Regions from separate parts of the Homo sapiens genome. Here regions 1 and 3 are each linked to region 2. The links are contacts of gene promoters, found by promoter capture Hi-C in human tissues and cell types (Jung and others, 2019). All regions are on one chromosome and are shown on one strand. Each heading gives the region's core, a stretch centred on a gene start or on the middle of the fragment in contact. The rest is flanking DNA. Distances are from core to core; before and after follow the strand shown. Region 1 overlaps TCAIM (T cell activation inhibitor, mitochondrial). Region 2 holds the start of ZNF852 (zinc finger protein 852). Region 3 overlaps TOPAZ1 (testis and ovary specific TOPAZ 1).

Evidence for each region. The method cuts DNA at HindIII sites, captures the fragments that hold promoters and counts their contacts. A contact is called where the count stands out against the background at its distance.
Region 1: a contact is called between a fragment that was not itself captured here and the fragment with the promoter of ZNF852 in region 2, in 1 of the 25 tissues and cell types used here (liver).
Region 3: a fragment that was not itself captured here is called in contact with the fragment with the promoter of ZNF852 in region 2 in 1 of the 25 tissues and cell types used here (mesenchymal stem cells).

What each region holds. Positions count from the first base shown.
Region 1 is chr3:44,358,479-44,361,347 of GRCh38, reverse strand. All of the region lies in intron 3 of TCAIM (T cell activation inhibitor, mitochondrial), which reads right to left. Among named protein-coding and RNA genes, the nearest start is that of TCAIM, 21 kb to the right of the region's middle. The HindIII fragment of the contact is 4,576 bases long and covers 1-2,869 here.
Region 2 is chr3:44,509,204-44,511,903 of GRCh38, reverse strand. It overlaps ZNF852 (zinc finger protein 852), which reads left to right and starts at 1,287. Exons shown (of 4, transcript NM_001423469.1): 1 at 1,287-1,351. RefSeq lists enhancers at 833-892, 351-1,127, 1,128-1,904 and silencers at 1,113-1,162, 1,293-1,352, 1,363-1,522. The HindIII fragment of the contact is 21,843 bases long and covers 1-2,700 here.
Region 3 is chr3:44,300,235-44,303,029 of GRCh38, reverse strand. All of the region lies in intron 12 of TOPAZ1 (testis and ovary specific TOPAZ 1), which reads right to left. Among named protein-coding and RNA genes, the nearest start is that of TCAIM, 37 kb to the left of the region's middle. The HindIII fragment of the contact is 3,841 bases long and covers 1-2,795 here.

The DNA.
Region 1 (2,869 bases), core at 22-2,521, 150 kb after region 2:
GGGCATTTACATACAAAATAGAACAAGGAAATATCAGAAATGATATCTATCTAACCTTTTAAACACATTGAGAGTATTAAATAATTTAGTATTTAAAAATGTTGGGATTTCATAGCTCTTTGGTAAAAGATAAAATTGGATCTACATCTCACAACATGTAACAGAATGAACTCCATATGGGTAAGATGTAAAAAGATGTAACCATATAAGTAATAGAAGAAAACATGGTTGAATTCCTTTATAACCTAAATGTAGAAAATGCCAATGACTAAATATCCCAAAGTAATAAATGATTGTTTGTTTAATTTATTCTAATATGATGTTCTTAGCCATATGAGTCCTGCAGGCAAGTGTGGGATAATTATTGCCAGTGTAAGACTAAATCTTCATCATTATTTTTTGATAAATATTTCTATTTTTGCTGAAAAGCAACACAAGAAGGCTGGACGTGGTGGCTCATGTCTATAATCCCAGCAGTTTTTGGGAGGCTGAGGTAGGCAGATTGCCTGAACTCAGGAGTTTGAGAACAGCCCGGGCAGCATGGTGAAACCTCGACTCTACAAAAAATACAAAAATTAGTTGGGCACGGTGGTACATGCTTGTGGTCCCAGCTACTCAGGAGGCTGAGGTAGGAGGATCACTTAAGCCCAGGAGTTCGAGGCTGCAGTGAGCCCCTTGATGGTGCCACCACACTCCCCGCCTGGGTGACAGAGCAAGACTCTGTCTCCAAAAAAATTAAAAAAAAAAAAAGATTATATATAGGAAGTGAATAGGAACTGGGTAAACGAAACAGGAATATAGGAATGAGACTTCTCATTAAACTTTGTATTTAGTTTTGATTTTTTTTTTAAACCCACAATGTTTTGCAGATTTTTAAATTAAATTAAAGAGGATTTTTTAAAAAACCCAAAAATCCTGTGCATCACTGGGAAACCCTGGACTTTGAGTTCGATGCTATGAATAGATGGGACTTTAAGCCACTCTTCCTAAGAAAAGGGGCAAGGGTGTTCTCTAATAGTAGGAAGAAGACTGAACTGAACATGTGGTGGCAAGAAGAGTGACAAGAAGAGTGAACAGTCTTCATGGAGCTTGCATTTTAGTGAGGGGAGAAAAATAAACAACAAACCTCACAAATAAGGAAATAGGGTACATGGAAAGGAAAAAAAAACAAGTACTGCAGGGTAAAGAGGGGACGGAATGCTAGGAAGGAAAGCAGAGATGGCAATTTAAAATAGGGTAGTTTTAAAAACAAAACAAAACAAAACAAACACAAGTAATAGTGTAGTCTGGGAGAGCCTCACTGAAAGGTGAGAAAGTAAAGGACAAGCCATATCTGGGATATCTGGGAAAAGGATGCTCTAAACAGAGGCAGCAGCTAGGGCAAGGGCTTGACACAAAGGAGGAGTCAATAAATACAAGTTAAAGATAACACGAAAATGTAAACTTATCAGAACCATTAAACTCTAGGCACATTGTGTCAGGGGTCCCCAAGACCACTCTCAGGTTCAACGATTTACTAGAAGGATTCACAGAACTCAGACAAGCTGTTTTATTCACCATTATGGTTTATTACAACAAAAGAATGGAGATTAAAATCAGCAAAGGGAAAAGGTGAATAGAGCAGAATCAGGAGAGACCACGTGCAAGTTTCCAGTTGTCATTTCACAGTGGAGTTTTACAGACAGTGCTTAATCCCCCCAGCAATGGTGTGTGACAATACGTAAAAGTGTTGCCACCCAAGGAAGCTCATCCAAGTCTGGATGTCCAGAGTTTTACTGGGGGTCAGTCAGGTAAGCATTTAGTGCTTATGTGACTCACTTCAGCTACTCAGTCTCAGCTCCCCAAATACCCAAGGTCAAATTAATACAGTGCAGCCCAGGGTCTTAGACACAGGAAAACAGGTATTCACTATAAATCACATTGTTAGCATAAACTATCTGGCATGGTCAAAGGCCTCAGGCAAACAGAAACATTCCTATCCAGGGGCTCAGAGCTCATTTCCCAGTAGCCAGTCAAAGGTCAGCACTGGGGTCAGACCTTTCTTTGGAATGTGCAAGGTTTAAGCAACCCAAGCTTGCTGAGTTAACCCTTTACCACACGTAGAAGTTTTTGTTGTTTGTTTTTTAAATTTAGGAGATGAGGACTCACTATGTTGCCCAGGCTTGAATTCCTGGGCTCAAGTAATCCTCCTGCCTCAGCCTCCCTAGTAGCTGGGACTACAGGTGTGCCACCATGCCCTGCTGCATACAGAAGTCTTAATTAAAAAAAATACATTGGTAGAATAATATTAAAGTATTACTAAGCTTGATTTTTCTATACATTTTGAATTTAAAAACTTTATTAATGCATCCCCGAGTTAATGAATATTTTTCTGTTGATTCAATTTACTGATTACTTTGAAAAGTTCTGACTTTGAGTAGCCAACATATCACATATCATAATCAGAATATTTTCCTAGAAGCAAAAAAGCAAAATAGATTTTCCATTGCAAGTAGAAAAAAATAACGATGTTCTAATTTTCAAGATTTCAAGTTCCTTTTCATATTAAACTAGATATCAGTGTTAATGAAAATAGAAGGAACACTGAAGTAATTCCAAAGCATGTGGCTTTGTAATACATAGCAGTCCCTTGGTATCCATAGGGGATTGGTTCCAGGACCTCCCGTGGATACCGAAATCTGCGAATGCTCAAGTCTCTCATATAAAATAGTGTAGTATTTGCAAATAACCTATGTGTATCCTCCCATATACTTTAAGTCATTTCTAGATTACTTATAATATCTAATATAATGTAAGTGCTATGTAAGTAGTTGTTATCCTGTGTTGTTCAGGGAATAATGACAAGAAAGAGAAGTTTGTTCATGTGTAG
Region 2 (2,700 bases), core at 38-2,537:
CAGGTGGTAACCGTTCCTGGGCAGGGATTTTAGTTTTCCTTGGAATCTTGCCCTCCTCACTATCCTGCCCACAACCTTCTACCCCTAGCTTCTGGGATCTCAGCTAGGAGCCATGCTATCCCCAACTCTCCCTCTACAGGGACGTGGGACGGGAGAGCTTTTATGAAGCACAGTAGTGAAAAGACCAAAAGATTTGGATTCAGTGGCTATTCCAGTTACTGACTCTATTTCCTTGGGCAACTCAAATCAATGCATGGCAGCCAGTGTGTTATGAGCTACCGGAAGTATACAGAAAAGTACCAGAAAAAATACAAGCATTATCATCAGTCGCTGTCAATTAAATAACTCTGTTACATTTCAACAGTGTTCGTAACCACTTGACATTGATGTATTTGTGTAATTTCTATTATCTGTTTTTCCCACAAAGCTGTAGCTCCATCCAAAGTGGGCAACTGAGTGTCTTGGTCAGTCATGTGCAGCCTGATGACCCTTGAACAGTTGCAAAAGTGCGCCTAGGGCTTGTAGCATTTACTTAAAAGGGGATAATAAACTCTCACGGCCAGTGCTGGGCTTATTGCCTTGTTTGGGAATTTCTCCATTCAAGGGTTTTATGTTTGGGGATGTGCTGGCCCTATTTTTTTGTTTGTTTGTTTTTTGAGACGGAGTCTGGCTCTGTCTCCCAGGCTGGAGTGCAGTGGCACGATCTCGGCTCACTGCAACCTCCGCCTCCCAGGTTCAAACGATTCTCCTGCCTCAGCCGCCGAAGTAGCTGCGATTACAGGCGCCGCGCCACCACACCCAGCTACTTTTTTTTTATTTTTAGTAGACACGGGGTTTCACCGTGTTAGCCACCGATCTCCTGACCTCGTGATCCGCCCACCTCGGCTTCCCAAAGTTCTGGGATTACAGGCGTGAGCCACCGCGCCAGGCCGCTGGCTCTATTTTCACCGCTAGCTTTGGATCCCTTTCTTCCCTGAAGGAAAAGAGGCCTCCAGGGCAGCCGTGCAGAACCGATGGGAGGGATGTAGGATAATACGCCAAAGCCGATAGAGTTCTGGAGCGCGCCTGGGCATCAGAGCGTGGAAGACAAGTGTCCGCGGAAGGAGGCGAAGGATGCTGGACAAGCCCCGCCGCCCGCCGCCCGCCGCCCGCCGCCCGCCGCCCGCCGCCCGCCGCCAGCGGCCCTGGGCCCAGGGAGAAGCAGAGATGTTGGCCCTCCCAGTTTCCTAGAGAGGCCGCAGAGGGCCCGGGGAGGCGACGCGCGTGCGCAACTGGGGAAGCTGGGAGGTAGGCGCGGGGCGGTCGGCTGCGGTGGCGGCGTTTGGATGATTGTCTCTCGGCGGCGGAGTCGGTGAGCGGCCCGGCGGGGCGCGGGGTGCGGAGCGGGGGCGGCTGTGCGTGCGAGAGTGGCAGGTGAGGCCGGGCCTGGAGGCTGCACCCGGGGCGGGGGTCTGGCCGTGGATCCCGCCCGGCCGCGCCGAGGGCATACCTCTTCGCCCCCCGGGCGTCTGGGGCAGAGAATCTGGAAAATTCCCGGTTTCTTCTGGCTTTATCTTTTCACCCAATTATGCGAATAAAGCGTACTTATTAGAGACAATTAGATAAGTGGAAGAAAAGTGAAAGTAGCCACCGTCCGGAAATCTTAGTCTCCAGGTCTCCTGACATTGAAAACATCTGGCATAGACTTCTCCCTTTTTCTTGTCTTATTTCACTTCCTGGCACCTGTCGCCGTCTAACATAGCATGTATTTGTTTATTGGTTATCTTCCCATAAGCCCCTTGCCAGGGCAGTGCTTTCTGTTTGCTTTATTAACTGCTGTTACCTTAGTGTATGGGAAATAGTAGGTGCTCCTAGAAGGTGTTTGTTAAATTAATGAAAGAAGGAATATCTAAACTGGGAGACAAGAAGAATTGACAGTTTTTAATGTCTTTTTTTTTTTTTTAAATAGCCCATTGCCAAGTTAAGAATGTAAGAGTGACCTTGAGCCTGGAACATTTCCTTGCAGAGTTAGAGCCCTCACAGCCTGTGCTGCTGCATTTAATGCCTTGTGTCTTTCAGTGTTTCAGGCTTCATGTGTACTCCTTTGTTGTGTTTAATCTCTTAAGTCAGTGGCCTTCATTCATTCTCTCAGCCTTCTGTATTTCACACCCCATAGGAGTGGGGAGGGTGGATTGAGATCTTTCTTCCTTACTAAGTGGGGTGTGTGCATCACACCAGCCCTATAGCTGTGGAGTGGATCTGCTGGGTGTGGGGGCTCTTTGCATTGCAGGAGGCTGGATCTTGTTCCCTGTTTCTCCTTTTGCTGTAAGTATACGCTGTACCTCTTGGGGCCTGATGTGGTTGGTATCTGTCCTCAGCGACCTCAAATCATGTGCTATCCCTTCCTTGGATGGCCTTTTAATCTTGGCAGCACAGCCTGGCCACCTGGTGAATAGTGGAACAGTCATGGTGATGCATAAGGATCTAGTATGTTCCTTTTAGGTGCTGTATGGTATTTCATCCTATAAAAATGCTACTTTTATTTAGCCATATTGATGGACAAGTAGGTTAAATCCAGTATTATGTTATTACAGAGAATATTTTAGTAAATACCTGTGTAAATGTCTGAATACCCGTGCAAGTGTTTTTCAGGGCAGATTCTTACAAGTTAAATTCCTGTAGCGTAAGGAATATGTCTTTTTAGTTTTACTGTGGACTTTC
Region 3 (2,795 bases), core at 232-2,731, 210 kb after region 2:
GAATCCTACCTCTGCAAAAATTAGCTGGGTGTGGTGGCATGCACCTGTAGTACCAGCTACGTGGGAGACTGAGGTGGGAGGATCACCTGAGCCCAGGAGGTCCAGGCTGCAGTGAGCTGTAATTGCACTACTGCACCCCAGCCCGGGAAACAGAGCAAGATCCTGTCTCAATCCATCAACACACAAACAAAAAACAATAGCTTTTATAAATACAAAAAAACCACATAATAATACAGAAAACCTCATTCACAATAGCACCCAAAATATTAAGTACTTATACAAAGAAAATTATAAAACACTCCTGAAAGACACATTACTACTACACGGAGTTAGGAAGTTGATACTAAATATATGGAGAAGCGTACATCCAAGAAGATCCAGGAAAACACTGAAAAACTATGAAAAAGAATTATCCCTACCAAAAATTAAAACATACTATTAAAGCTTCTACAGTTACTATAGTGTGGTTCCAGTGCAGGAATAGGCAAACAGTCCAGTGGAATAAAATACAAAGTCAAGAAACAGACCCCATTGTATATGAAATTTAGTATACGATGAAGGTGGCATCTCAAATCACTGGAGGTAAAGATGGACATTTTATTTTACCATTATTATTTTCTGAGATGGAGTCTTGCTCTGTCACCCAGGCTGGAGTGCAGTGGTGCTATCTCGGCTCACTGCAAGCTCCGCCTTCTGGGTTCACGCCATTCTCCTACCTCAGCCTCCCGAGAAGCTGGGACTACAGGTGCCCGCCACCACACCCGGCTAGTTTTTTGTATTTTTAGTAGAGACGGGGCTTCACCATGTTAGCCAGAATGGTCTCTATCTCCTGACCTCGTGATCTGCCCACCTCGGCCTCCCAAAGTGCTGGGATTACAGGTGTGAGCCACCACGCCCAGCCAAGATGGATATTTTAATACATGTTGTTGGAAAAGTTGTATAATCATTTGGAAAAGATAAAACTGAATCCATTTCACATAACATACCTAAGAGAAAAAACTCCACGTAGATTAAAAACCTAACTGTAAAAATGAAGTCATACAAATAGTAAAAGAAAACGTGCCAGTTTGCCTAAAACCTTCATGTAGAGAAATGATGACTCAAAACCACATGCAATAAAACATAACCTTGACTCAAAACTGAGAAAAAAGATTGAAATATAAGGTTGCATAAAAATAAAACTTTTTGCATGGTAAAAAACACCAGAAGGTCAAAAGACAACTGACAAACTGGAAGAAAAATTGCAATATATACTAATATATACTACAAAGGCCTAATACCTGTAATATATCAAGAACTCTAAAAGTTTAAGAACCAAAAAACCAAAACCTAATAGAAAAAGGGGAAAAAGAGTGAAGAGTTCACATAAAACATGTAAAAATAGCCCTCAAATATACGAACAGAAAATGCTCAAATTCATTCATGAGAGAAATGCAAACTAAAACACCATTTGTCATCTAATAGATTGGCAAACATTGAAAAACATTCTAACACATTATGTTAGAAAGCTAGGCTGAAATAGGCAGTCTCATATTTCTGATGGGAACACAAATGGGTACAAGTATTCTGGAGGAAAATTTGGCAATACCTAACAAAAGTTATATATACTTATCTTTAAAAGTTATAAGTTATATACTTATCTTCACAATTTTTTGACTTTTAAATAAGCTCACAGGAATTTCCAAAAATAGTACACTGTGCACTCTTCACCCAGCTTTTTCCAATAGTGACATCTTATATACCACCAGGAAACTGACACTGGTACAATATTGTTAACTACAGGCCTTATTCAGTTTTTATCAATTTTTACATGTATTTGTGTGTGTGTATGTAACTGCAACTGTTCCATTTCTACAAAGGAACTTTCTCATGATACCCTTTTATACTCATCCCCTCTCCACTGTCCCTGTCCCCTGGCAACCACTAATCAGTTCTCCATTTCTTAGTTTTGTTATCTCGGGAATATTACATAAATGAAATGTATGCACTGTGTAGCATGTAGCCTTTTGAGATTAGCTTTTAAAATTCAACACAATTCCCTTGAGATCAATCCAATTTGTTGCACATTTCATAGTTTCTCCCTCTTTTTCCTGAATAGTATGCCATGGTATGTACCACAGTTTAACTATAACTACTCATTCACCTATTGAAGGGTATCTGAGTTTTTTTTTTTTTTTCCAGTTTCTGGTTATTACAATTAAAGCTGCTAAGAACATTTACGTGTAAGTTTTTATGTGACCAAAAGTTTTCATTTCTCTAGGATAAATGCCCAGGAGTTCAACAGCTGCCTTTGGGATGTGCATGTTTAGTTTGTAGAGAAACTGTCAAACTGCTTTTCAGAGTGGCTGTACCATTTTATATTCTCACTAACAGCATATGATCCAGTTTATCCACACTCTCCCCAGCATTTGGTGTTAACAATATTTAAAAAAAAATTCTGTTATTCTGATAGGTGTGTGGTGATATCTCATATAGTTTTATTTTACATTTCTCTTATGGCTAACAATGTTGAACTTATTTTCATGTGCTTAGTTGCCATCTGCATATCCTCATTGGTGAAACATGTTTATGTCTTTAGCCCATTTTCTTTTCTTTCTTTTTTTTTAAGACGTCTCACTCTGTCGCCCAAGCTGGAGTGCAGTGGCACGATCTCAGTTCACTACAACCTGGGTTCAAGTGATTCTCTTGGAGCCTCAGCCTCCTGAGTAGCTGGGACTACAGGCATGTACCACCATGCCTGGGTAATTTTTGTTATTTTTAGTAGAGATGGGGTTTTACCATGTTGGCCAGGCTGG